Linked DNA regions of Homo sapiens: region 2 is linked to region 1. The links are contacts of gene promoters, found by promoter capture Hi-C in human tissues and cell types (Jung and others, 2019). All regions are on one chromosome and are shown on one strand. The core of a region is centred on a gene start or on the middle of the fragment in contact, and the rest is flanking DNA. Distances in the headings are between cores, read along the strand shown. Region 1 holds the start of DICER1 (dicer 1, ribonuclease III). Region 2 overlaps SYNE3 (spectrin repeat containing nuclear envelope family member 3).

Evidence for each region. Contacts are between HindIII fragments. The study calls those that stand out against the background at their distance.
Region 2: a contact is called between a fragment that was not itself captured here and the fragment with the promoter of DICER1 in region 1, in 2 of the 25 tissues and cell types used here (IMR-90 fibroblasts and adrenal gland).

Annotation. Positions count from the first base shown.
Region 1 is chr14:95,154,997-95,160,942 of GRCh38, forward strand. DICER1 (dicer 1, ribonuclease III) reads right to left here and starts at 2,533. Exons shown (of 27, transcript NM_177438.3): 1 at 2,234-2,533. DICER1-AS1 (DICER1 antisense RNA 1) reads left to right here and starts at 2,692. Exons shown (of 4, transcript NR_015415.1): 1 at 2,692-2,862; 2 at 3,197-3,238; 3 at 3,880-4,039. RefSeq lists silencers at 1,824-2,183, 2,244-2,703 and enhancers at 2,794-2,893, 2,934-3,003. The HindIII fragment of the contact is 9,684 bases long and covers 1-5,946 here.
Region 2 is chr14:95,413,343-95,419,288 of GRCh38, forward strand. SYNE3 (spectrin repeat containing nuclear envelope family member 3) reads right to left here. Exons shown (of 18, transcript NM_152592.6): 18 at 1-4,684. The coding sequence ends at 4,484. Among named protein-coding and RNA genes, the nearest start is that of LINC02292, 87 kb to the left of the region's middle. The HindIII fragment of the contact is 6,096 bases long and covers 1-5,946 here.

The DNA of each region.
Region 1 (5,946 bases), core at 1,283-3,782:
AAATCCATTTGGAACAGTAATGCAATACAAAAAGCATGCCTCCAAAGATTCTGAAACCAAACCACAATTCGATCTCGGCTCTGCCACTTCGAGATTCCTAACTTGGGGTAATAATCACTGACTCTTAGTTTCCTTGCCTATAAAACAAGGACAATATCGAGTTGATCGCAGGGTCACAGTGAGGATTAGAAGAGAATGTACGTAGAACCTGAAACATCTTGGCGCATAACAAGGAGGCACTCAATAACACGTTTCCCTTATCTCCTTTGCCATGAGCAAGTGGAAACGTGACCATGACATGGTAGGGTCGCAAGTGAGAGACTGTCTACGAAATATCTACTTTCTCAAATGAAACAAGCACCTCACATGTCAGATAGTGGTAGAGAATAAAACATCCCAACGCCATAAAAGTCACCCTCTCTAGAAGATAGCACTACAAGTACTGTACAACCCACTATATGACAAAATCACTGTCAAATAAGAATCATGAGCCACATCAAAAGACAATGTCTTCTAAAACCAAGACAATAAAGCTCAATAATAGCAAAACAACCTAGCTACCCAACTCACACATTGAGCCACGGGCAAAATACAGCAGAGCAGTCAGGGCTTACCCTTCAAACATGAGATGGAAGCATAAAAAGTAAAGCAGGCCCTTACTAAAAAGGATTGTAGGAAAATGTCTTTTCTCCCCAAATTAAAATGGACTAACTGTTCTCTTCTTAAAACAGCATTTTGGTGCCGTGAGTAAATCTATAAACCTATGTTACCATGATCAATGTTTATAGTGACCATGTTAAAAGCAATCTTTAGTTTTTTGTTTTTTTATCTATTGAGTTTTATGGAATATGCCCTAAAATGAAGTTTTGAAATAATTGTGTATGTATGTGCATGTACACAGCACATATTACATATAATACACACGTGCCACAGGTAGCTTTAAAGTAGACTTTGCAAAATAAACTGGCTATTCCAGAACCTAATTTCCAAAGATATCAATAATATTGAAAATTACTATTCTCTAGGACCTGGCTTATCCCGAACCCATCTTTTAATAAACTGAGTTTTTTGGTGAGGATGTATATTTTTATTTAGAAAACTTAACGTTTACACCAATACATATTCAATATAGCTAACCTGTTTTAACAGCACATTTTTAACAATATTTTCCGAGTTGCTTAAATCCTAACCTGAGTCCTTTTCCACTGTTTGAAAACAAGCACCACGAAGACACCTGACAATCAGGATTGTAAAGATTCAGAATATTCGAAGACAGAAGCATAGGCGTCCAAGTGATCCTCTTTCATCAGATGAATGTTTTTAAAACCTGAAAGTCCTAAGAACACTTACTTATCGTGTAGACCAGTAACGTGTCCCTTTAACCACAACTCTCTCCACAAAAGCACGGAGTTAACACTACACAAATAGGACCCTCCAACTCATCTCCACGTTTCCGCGGATCTTCAGGTTCCTAAGGACACACTCAGTGGTTTGCTGGCTCTGACCTCCAGGCAGAGCCATCAGGGCAACTCAGCTTTTCTGGACAATCTACAGAAATCTGATGTGCTAACTTAAAACATACACTGATTTCCCCAAAATCAAAAACCCTGAAGAAAGGGTCCTCCGCAGGGTCTAGGCATTTTGGCACAAAAACATCTGAGGGGAGAGGCAAAAGAATGGCCTCGGCCCCTGCCCGCCCCCCAGGGCCCCAATCTGGTCCCCTGACAGTAATCACACAGGACCCTCCCGGGAGGGACCGAGAGCCCAGCTTCGTCCCCTCCGGGCGCGGCACAGCGGCCCCATCAGAGGAGGGCCCCAGGGTGCTCCGGCAGGTCAGGCGCGCGTCTCCACCTCCGCTGCTCCCGCGCCACCTTAGCGCGCGTGACGGGACCTGTCAAGAGCCCCAGGCCTCGCCAGGCCGGGGAGTGGACAGGCGCCGGCATCCCCCACCACGCCACGGCGGCCCGGAAAGTCTCCCAGGGCTGCCTCGCGGGGAGGCGCCGGGGTCCGGGCCCAGGAGCAGAGCCGAGGCGGGCAGACGCCGGGTCCACAGGCCGCGCTGTGCGGGACGACGAGGCAGGCGAGGCCGCGCCCTTCGTCAGCGCCCGCCAGGCCCGGACGCGCGGCTCGGGGCCATGGCCGGCACGCGGGCCTCCGCGCGGAGGCGGGAGCGCGGCCAGGCGACCCGCTCCCCGCCCCGGACACAAAGCTGCTCCGCGGGAGCCCGCCTCACCTGCAGCACGGGGCGCCGCGGGCCTTCGAGAACCATCGGACCCCGCTCCGGCGCGCGCGTCACAGCCCAGGCCTCCCGGAGCCGCCCGGCGCCGCCGCCCCCGCCGCCATTTCCTCGCGCTCGCCGTCGCCTCGTCCCCGCTGTCAGGTTACTCCATTCACCTGGGCCTGCAGCAGCCTGCGCCGCGCCTCCGCCTCGACCCCTCCCGCCGGCGCCTGCGGAGACTGCGCAGCGCCCGGCTGGCCGGCAGCCAGCGCACGGCCCGCGGCAACGGCGCACAGCCGCTTGGAGAATCCCACTGGCTCCCGCACCGCCCCTCCGCGCCCCCACGCTCCGCTCGCCCCGTGGCGGCATGAGAGCGAGCCTGTGATTGGACAGGGCCTGGCGGTGAAAGGTTAATCCCGGCCCCCCAGCCACTCAGGAGCAGGGAGACAGCGGGCGCGCGCGCGGAGGCCGGAGAGGCGTTTGCGGCCCAGCGCCTGGACTGGACCTTGGCGTTGGGCCGCAGTTGCCCGGAGTTTTTGGGGCCCCCGGGAACCCGCGCGCCGAGGCCGGCTAAGTTTGGCAGACTCTCTGAGCTCTCGGAATTCGACTGCCTCCATTGTTGCTCCTTCTGGCACCCACAGACCGTAACGTGGCCGTAATTGTTTCCCGGAGAGCTTAGCTTCCCTCTGAGCACCTCCCTCCCCTTTTTAAAGTACCTTCCCACTCGCCTGCGTTTCCTCGCGTTAGTGGTGCAGGGGCCTCCGCATTTGGGGAAATAACAAACACCCACTTCCGCCCCCCACCCCAACCGGGATCCCCAGATAATGAGAAATAGATGGTGGCCCTCTGTTTGTAAGCTGTTCATTTGCATAGGTCGGAACCGCGCACCACAGCTTGAAGCTAGGAATTAAAATATCGGTGGGAATTAAATAAGTGGCTGGCTTAAAGAACATCTTCTTAATTTATCCCCAAATGTAGACATCTCTTCAGTGGACCCCCTGATAGGCCGGTTTGCTCCAGGTGAGGTGTGCTCACAGCAACTGCAACCGTGTTTCTTTCAGACCATGGGCGTGAGCAGAACCTACTATGCGCCCCTGCTGCCTGGGCTGTGCTGTTCAGTTTGGGGCCACCAGCCCCACATGGCTCCTGAGCACTTAAAGTATGGCTAGTCGGAATCGAGATATATGCATTCTTTACCAAATAATGTTCAAAAAATTGTTACATGTTGAAGTGATAAACTTTTTCCATATATTGGGATAAAAGTTTTATTTGTTTATTTTTTAGTGTGGGTTCTACAGAATTTTAAATGTCACCTGTGGCCTGCATTATATTGCCATTGGGCAGGCTGATCTAGGGCTTGCATGCCTGTGATCCTTAGGTGCACCCTGTGAGGTAGGTGCTTTAACTGTGTGCACCCTGTGAGGTAGGTGCTTTAACTGTGTGCACATTGTGAGGTAGGTGCTGAAACTGCTTCCTGTTTTTTTTTTTTTTTTCTTTTGAGACGGAGTCTCACTCTGTCTCCAGGCTGGAGTGCAGTGGTGCGACCTGGGCTTACTGCAATCTCCGCCTCCCAGGTTCAAGTGATTCTCCTGCCTCAGCCTCCCGAGTAGCTGGGATTACAGGGGCACGCCACCACACCCAGCTAATTTTTGTATTTTTAGAAGAGACGGGGTTTCACCATGTTGGCCATGATGGTCTCGATTTCTGACCTTGTCATCCGTCCGCCTTGGCCTCCCAAAGTGCTGGGATTACGGGCGTGAGCCACCGTACCCAGCCTGCTTCCTGTTTTAACAGACGAAGAAATGGAATAACTTCCAACAAGTAAGTAGCCAGTAAGTGAACAACTGAGATTTGAACCCACGTAGTCTGGCTTTGAGGCTGGTGTGCTCAGTCATTACTGTGCTAAAATTTTGATAATATATTTACTATGAATTGGCTTAAGGTTTCACTTGAAAGTAGCATATTTATGGGCAAAATTAGGAAGTAGGATGCTCCTGGCAGACCCATGTATTTAAAAAAGTAGTTTCTTATATGTCAAGCACGGTGAGCATGTCATACCTTTAAGACCCCAGTCATACATATAAGGTTTTCTTTGTAGCTAGGAATTAAAATATCGGTGGGCGTTAAATAAGTGTCTGGCTTAAAGAACATCGTCTTAACTTATCCCCAAATGTAGATATCTCTTCGGTGGACTCCCTGATAAGCCTTTATGAGAAGGACAGCATCTCAGTATGGGGGTAGGCACTGGACTCTATTGGCAGTGGAAATTTGTGGGCTGGTACAACTTCAGCCCCTCTGGTTGCCCTCTTGCAATCTGTCAAGACTAGCCAGGCTGCTTGTTCCATCAGCAGGTATACCTGATTTTTTTATTTTTTTAATTTTATGTATTTGTTTTTTTCTTTTTTGAGGCAGAGTTTCACTCTTGTCGCCCAGGCTGGAGTGCAATGGCGCAATCTCGTCTCACTGCAACCTCTGCCTCCTAGGTTCAAGCGATTCTTCTGCCTCAGCCTCCCAAGTAGCTGGGTTACAGGCATGTGCCACCACGCCCGGCTAATTTTTGTATTTTCAGTAGAGACGGGGTTTCACCATGTTGGCCAGGCTGGTCTCGAACTCCTGACCTGCCTCGGCTTCCCAAAGTGGTGGGATTACAGGCATGAGCCACTGCGCCTGGCCGGTTTGTCTGATTTTTATCAATTTCAGTTTTTATTTTTAAAATAAATAGTATATCCATATTATTCATTTATCAGAAAGCCTATAAAAGATACACAGTGGAAAAAGATGTCCCTCACACCTGTCCTAGTGTCACAAATAGGTGACCACTGTTTCCTGCTCATTCTTCAAAATGTTTATGTATATATGAGCCAAGATATGCCCTTTGTGTTCCTTGTTTAGAAAAATGCCGGCATGCCATACATATTTACTCCACCTTGTGTTTTTTACTTAATGTATCCGGGGGGCATGTTTATAGTAACACATAGAGAGCTCCTTGCTGTTTTTTCAACCCCCTTAACATATTATTGCAGGTATATCCATACCATAATTTACCAATTCTCTATTGATGGACATTTAGACTTTAAGTCTTTTGGAATTAAAAGTTGATCCATTTGGAATCGATTTAATATATAGGGTGAGGTATAGATCCAAATTAATTTTTTTGTCCAGGTGGCTACACAGTCATTTATTGAGCAGTTCACTTCTGGACTCTGTATCCGTTCTAATGGTCTATCTATTCATGCTCCACTTGCTGGTTTGTTTTAAATCCAGAGACATAAAATCTTGTAAGGGATATTGTTTCACACTTTGTTTGGATCACTAGAAATCTTAAAGCCTATATTTCAGCCCGTGTTAAGCAACGGTATAGTACCATGTGGCATGCATTTTCTATGGGCTAATTTTTATTTTCCCTTAGCCCCTATTATTTCCACAATTTGGTTTATTTTTTGTAGAACAAGCCAGGATTTAAATATACCTTTAAGACTCTCTGTTTGCAAGTAACAGAAACCAAGCTGAACTAGCGCAACCAAAAAGGGAGAATTTACCATAATGATATAGGTGCTTCTCACAAAAGCCCAGAACAGGAATACAGCCACATCTTAGCAAAAACTAGAACCAGTCATTGAAAAGCTTCCAGGAACCCAAAAGGTACTCTCTGTGCCCCTTGTGATTGTTTTCTATGTATCTCTGCTAACTTGTTCTCTCTGCTTTTCCATCTACATGGGAGAATATAG
Region 2 (5,946 bases), core at 1,692-4,191, 260 kb after region 1:
TGGCCCACTTCCCCGTCCGCCCTCTCCAGCCAGACCACCATAAAGTGCAGTTCCTCAAAGCTTCTGCAAAGCCTCCCAGCTTCCCAGTCAGGCCTGGCTCCAGTCTAATGGAAGAGATAAGATCCCCTCTTTACTCCCTAACTGTGGGCAGCCCCAGCCTCCCATCCCCTGCAAGGCAGGGCAGGATGATGCCACCGGTCCCAGTTTGCCAGCTGTAAAATCCATTAGGGAACATCCAGCACAAACCACCCGCCTTCAGGCCTTTTCCTGCCCTCTGCCTGTCATTCTCCTTGGCCCCCAGGGTGCAGAGGGTCCCCAGCTTCCTTCCCCTGAAGATGCCCGGAGACAAGCATCTTTGGACCCCCGGTCCCTGCAGGGAACTCCAGCCAGCTGCCTGAAGCAAACGGGGCCTGAGAGATGGAATTGGGTCAGGTCATCCTTGACCCATTTCCTCTGGAAGGGAGTCGGGTGTCAGGAAACACATTTGCCTTTGGGTTTTTAATGTAATTCAACAAACCACAGCTGAAGCTCTTATCCTGTGCTGGGCATTGGGGGTGTGGAGTTCTGTCATTCATGACCGAGGACCTCATCATGAGACATTAGAGGGGCTCATCTTCCAGGTGAGCAATGTGAAGATAATGATAGATGGCCCAAGGGAATGTGCTGCTGGTGGTGACTCATCTCAGAGCTGAGGGCAGTCCCTCAGGGAAACATTTGGATGCTCCGCTCTGGCCATGTCCCAGGCGAGCTGATGGGCAGAGAGTTCTGCCTGCTTGCCCAGGGAACTCCATTCCCAGAGGCTACAGAGACTGCAACCTGGTAGAACCAGCCTGAAGCCCCCCTCCAGCCTGGGCTTTGGGGTCCTCATTGCCCCATGTTGTGGGTTTGGACCCACTTCAGCATGAGCAAGGGTCTTTATATCTTTAAGCCTCAGGGTTCCATCTCAAACATGGGGGTAAAACAGTATCAAACCCTGGGGGCAGGTGTCGATGTGGGAATTACATAAAGCAAGGCTGCAAAGTGCCGCCCAAGGGGCTCAAGCACCCACGAGCACCAAACGAGCACATTCTTTGTCTCCCTTGTCGGTGTTCCCTCTGTCCCGCCACCACTGGGCACCTCCCAGGGTCTCCTCGCCTCGTCTGCTGTCAGTACCTGCCCATCCCTCCCGCTCCCAGCTTTTCTTTTTAAACACCCTCTGGGTGCTGCATGTGCCTTTCCACATGCAGAGAACGGGCTAAGAAAGAAAGGGGTGGGAGGGACAGGTAAGCAGGGATAACTAATTCATCAACCGACCCACTGGTGGTCCTTTCTCCCTCCTCTCCTTCCCTCCTCTCTCTCTCTCTGACACACACACACACACACACACACACACACACACACACACACACACGCCACAGCGCCACCTTTCTCAAGTAGCACCTTAAAGCTCTGCATGGCTGTTAAAGAGGCTGGAAACTAAAGTCATAAGAATAATTGCCTGGCTCTCCTTTAAGCAAAGGAGATTGCACTTGTGCTTGGAAGCACCAGTAACTGGGCTGTTACGTTATATTACAAGTATATTTATATGAAAATACTGAAAATATCAATTCTTTTTTAAAAAACAGTTATGCAAACAAACAGACTTGATGGCATCATTATCAAAATTTAAAAAATATAGGTAGATATTCCCACCCCCGCCCGCATGTTCCAGCTTCTCCTTCCCCAACATGTGGTATATGTGACAGGCTGCATACATGCCCAGTGGCTGTTTTTTTCATGTAGTTGCTGACATGAGCGGATCATACCACAATGAGCAGGGTACCACCTGAGGGCCATGGTGGCCAGTTGGGCTCTGGCCTTGCTGCCTCTCACTGTGTGGCCATGGATCAGTTTCTTCCCCATTCTGGGCCTCAGCTTTCTCACCTGTGACATAGGAAAGTGGACACCTGGCAAGGCCCCCCCACCCACCCACCCTGCCACTGCTCTGACTTCCAGGACTGGACATCTGGGCTTGGCTGCCTGGGCTCACTCAGCTCCTGATTTTCCAGTAAGGTGGTCGCCTGCAGAGAACGGCCCTATGGCTTGGTTTCCAGATATCTGGAGAAAAGTGTGCTTTCTCTTCTTCCATGAAATCACAAATTTCTCTAGATATTTGGAAACCAAGTCACAGGGTTGTAGGATCTACTTTTTGAACTTTTCATCCCCTGTAGTTGCCAATTCTGCATGTACTAGTCTTGTAGAAATAAGTTAAACTGAAGCAGCTTGAGGGAAGGAACTTGATGGAAGGATGGAGAGTCTACAGGGCTTGTTTTCCAAAGAAAAGTGTTGTTTGGAGGAGCATAATTATAAGCCTACAGCTTATCATAAAGCTATTCAAAAAAAAAAAAAAATGGCCAGGCATGGTGGCTCATGCCTGTAATCCCAGTGCTTTGGGACGCTGAGGTGGGCGGATCACCTGAGGTCAGGAGTTCGAGACCAGCCTGGCCAACATGGTAAAACCCTAACTCTACTAAAAATACAAAAATTAGCTGGGCATGGTGGCAGATGCCTGTAATCCCAGCTATTTGGGAGGCTGAAGCAGGAGAATCGCTTGAATCTGGGAGGCGGAGGTTGCAGTGAGCCGAGATCGCACCACTGCACTCCAGCCTGGGCAAAAAGAGCGAAACTCCATCTCAAAATAATTATAATAACAATAATAATAATAACTCAGAGCCAGGCTTGTGGATGGAAATATAGTGCCCAAGTCACATTCTGCTTAAAGTTGTAACAAATACAGACGAGTTAAAAGAAAAAAAAAAGTACGCTTTCTGAGTCAGCCCCAAGGGCTCTCCTTGGCAGCACGGGTTTCCTGCCGGTGAAATGTCCTAGTTGCCTAGGACCCGGGTCCCCAAGGGCAGAGCTCACAGTGAAAGGCAAAGGGTCAGTGTGTGTGAGACAGCAATGGTGCTGGGTATCAGGCCCTCTTAGGTCCTCAGTTTCCCCTCTACTTAAAGGGCCTTTCTGGGTCTATAATACCTTATGATTCCAAAGCCGGACAGAAGGTCCGAGGAAATCCCCTCGTATTTGTAGTTGAACAGACAAAATCCATTTGTAGAGAGTGGGCATTAAGTACTTTTTTAAAGGGGAAAATTTAGTGTTGATTTAGGAAAAACATGATCCAGTTGTAGAGCACTTAGGAACCATCCCAGAGTTCCCTGGCAAGGAAGGGATGAGTTTCTGGCCTCGGGAACTCACATGGAGTCACCGCGGCCCCAGCCCAGGTGGTGCATGGAGCCCAGCTCGCCTACACCTGGCTGGAGAGGGCCTGGTTTTGGGTGGCCTGGGCCCTAGTCCCATATGGGGATGCACATGAGACCTTCTTGGCCCCATAGACCTGCTGTCTCCAGAGTCTTTTCTGGGAAGCGGAAGGAGAGCCCTTGAGACAGGCTGAACTCCAAAGCAGATTCTCTCACCTCTGTCCTGGACCCTCGATCCCTGGCCCCTGGCGTGGCAGATGCTTCCCTTCTCACCTGCAGCTCGAGCTCTCGACGATGAAAACTCAGTCCAGGAGCAACAGAGGAAACACATCTTTCCTGGGCACTGCCAGTGGGTGCTGCCCACCGAGTGTGCCTCACCATTCTGCATGGAAATCTTAAAAATCAAGCTTGTCTTCTTCCCTTTCTCCCTGAATGAAACACACAGAGCAGGATCTCACCGTTTCATGGGGGCTCGGTGTCATCACCAGGGACAGTCCTCATAGGTCTGTGTGATCAGAAGCCGCTGAGAGCTGGGGTTAGGGCTCCGGCATGCAATGCCTCCACACAGCTGTGCTTTCTTAGTTCGGGGATCTGCTCTCTGCAGCTCTTCTTTTTCTCCCTCGATATCACTCTGTCACTTGTCACTGCTATCATTGAACCTGCCTCTGGTCATTGCCATTTCTACTTCTGACACGTGGCAGCTACTCTTTGTGGTTGTTAAAACTAGACAAGCATACTTGTTCTCATTACGCATAAAGCAAGAGTCGCTGGGCACCAAGTGAGGGTCTATGGCGCTCTTCCACGTTGCAGCTCAGAGGCCTTTCATTACATCTGAATTCTGGGATTCGCTTTGGAGAAGAGGTTGCCATGAAAGTGACATGTTATTGTTCTTGCTTTCTAGGGTTGACTGCAGACCAAGTCAACAATACCACAAAATCCCATTGGAGGGAGCCATTGCTAGGAATTTTCCCAACTCCAAATAGAACTCGTATATGAAATTATACATACTGAGCATTTACATACAGATCATATAAAAATTCTAGACATTATTCCCTAGTCACATGTAGTACACATTTAGTATAAATAGACTAAGACAACACTGTATAAAAAGTAAGTGTCTTCTGGGAACGCTGACACAGCACTGATATGGATGCAGCTCTGCAGTCTTTGCCCTGCCCCTGTTTCCAGTTTCCCTGGCGAGCATCCTCAGGAGGGGCCCTGGGACTGATGGAGGTTGGAGGAGAAAGTCACCTGTGTGCCCCAGTGGGTTAGGTGGGTGGTGGGCCATTGTAGCGCAGCATGAGCGTGAAGGAGCGGGCGAAGTTGTTGGCCAGGGTGCAGCTGCGGTCCTCTTCCCTGATTGGGAGCAGGAACAGCAGGAGGAGGAACAGCAGCAGAAGCAGCTGCAGTGGGAGCGCCACACAGCACGCCCTCCGGAAGAGGGAGCCCAGTCCTCGCCACCGCCGAGTCTGCGGAACCAACACAGCACAGGTGAGTGGGCTGGGGGGCTCTGGTGGTGGGGGGCAGGTTCAGGGGGCGAGGAGGATGCCAGGAGCGGTGGTAGCACTGAACTGACTGTATGACAGTACACATCTCCAGGTTCTCATCTGTGAAACAGGGCTAATGTAAGTTTTAACAGAAACAGGGTTTCTGCAGTTTTCCCAAAGCATTCAAGGCATGAAAGGAAGAATAGAAAACACAGTTGCAGGCTCTGCCATTGTGACATATATCTTTGCCTGGTGTAGCAGAGTGCTGGCTGTGAATCCTAAGGTCACTTGACTTCTCTGAATCTCTAGTTTCTCATCTTCAGATGGGGCAATAATGGCACCTACATGACAGAATTGTCATGAGGATCCAATGAGGCAGAGCCTGGCACATAGTAAGTATGTACCAGCTGCTGTCATGATTAGTATGCATCCTTAATATTTCACCATCTAAATCTTCGTCATCACCATCATCACCAGCATCAAATTTATCATCGTCACTTTCTTCCTCCTCTTGTCTTTCTTCCCTTTCCTCTTTTTCCTCCCCCTCTTCCTTTTCTTTCTTTCTTTTTTTTCCTTTGAGATGGAGTCTCGCTCTGTCGCCCAGGCTGGAGTTCAGTGGTGTGATCTCAGCTCACTGCACCCTCCACCTCCCAGGTTCAATCAATTATCTCCCTCAGCCTCCCGGGTAGCTGGGATTACAGGCACCTGCCACCATGCCCAGCTAATTGTTTTGTATTTTTAGTAGAGATGGGGTTTCACCATGTTGGCCATGCTGGTCTTGAATCCTGACCTCGTGATCCACCCTCCTTGGCCTCCCAAAGTGCTGGGATTATAGGTGTGAGCCACCGCGCCTGGCCCCTCTCTTCTTTTCCTCCCTCTTTCCTTCCCTCTTCTCCCTCTCTTCCTCCTCCTCCTTTTATTTCATCATCAATTTCATCACCATCACTATTGCCATCAGTATCACATGAAGGTTAGTCTCACAAGTCCAAATGCCTAATGGACTTCTCTGCTACAATGTCCCTGAAAGTGGCCAAGAAAACATTTCCTAAGTTCTGGAGGGACTGGCCAGGTTGTGGCTTCATGGATGTCTGACTGCCAAGGAGTGCAGGGGCAAGAGCTGGTCACTCAGAAGAGTGAGGCCCTCATGGTCAAGATGCTGCAGAGTGCAGGACGAGCCCAGCTTTTAGGATCCTAGCAGACTGGGTCCCCACCCAGACTCTGTTACTCAACAGCTATGTGACCTT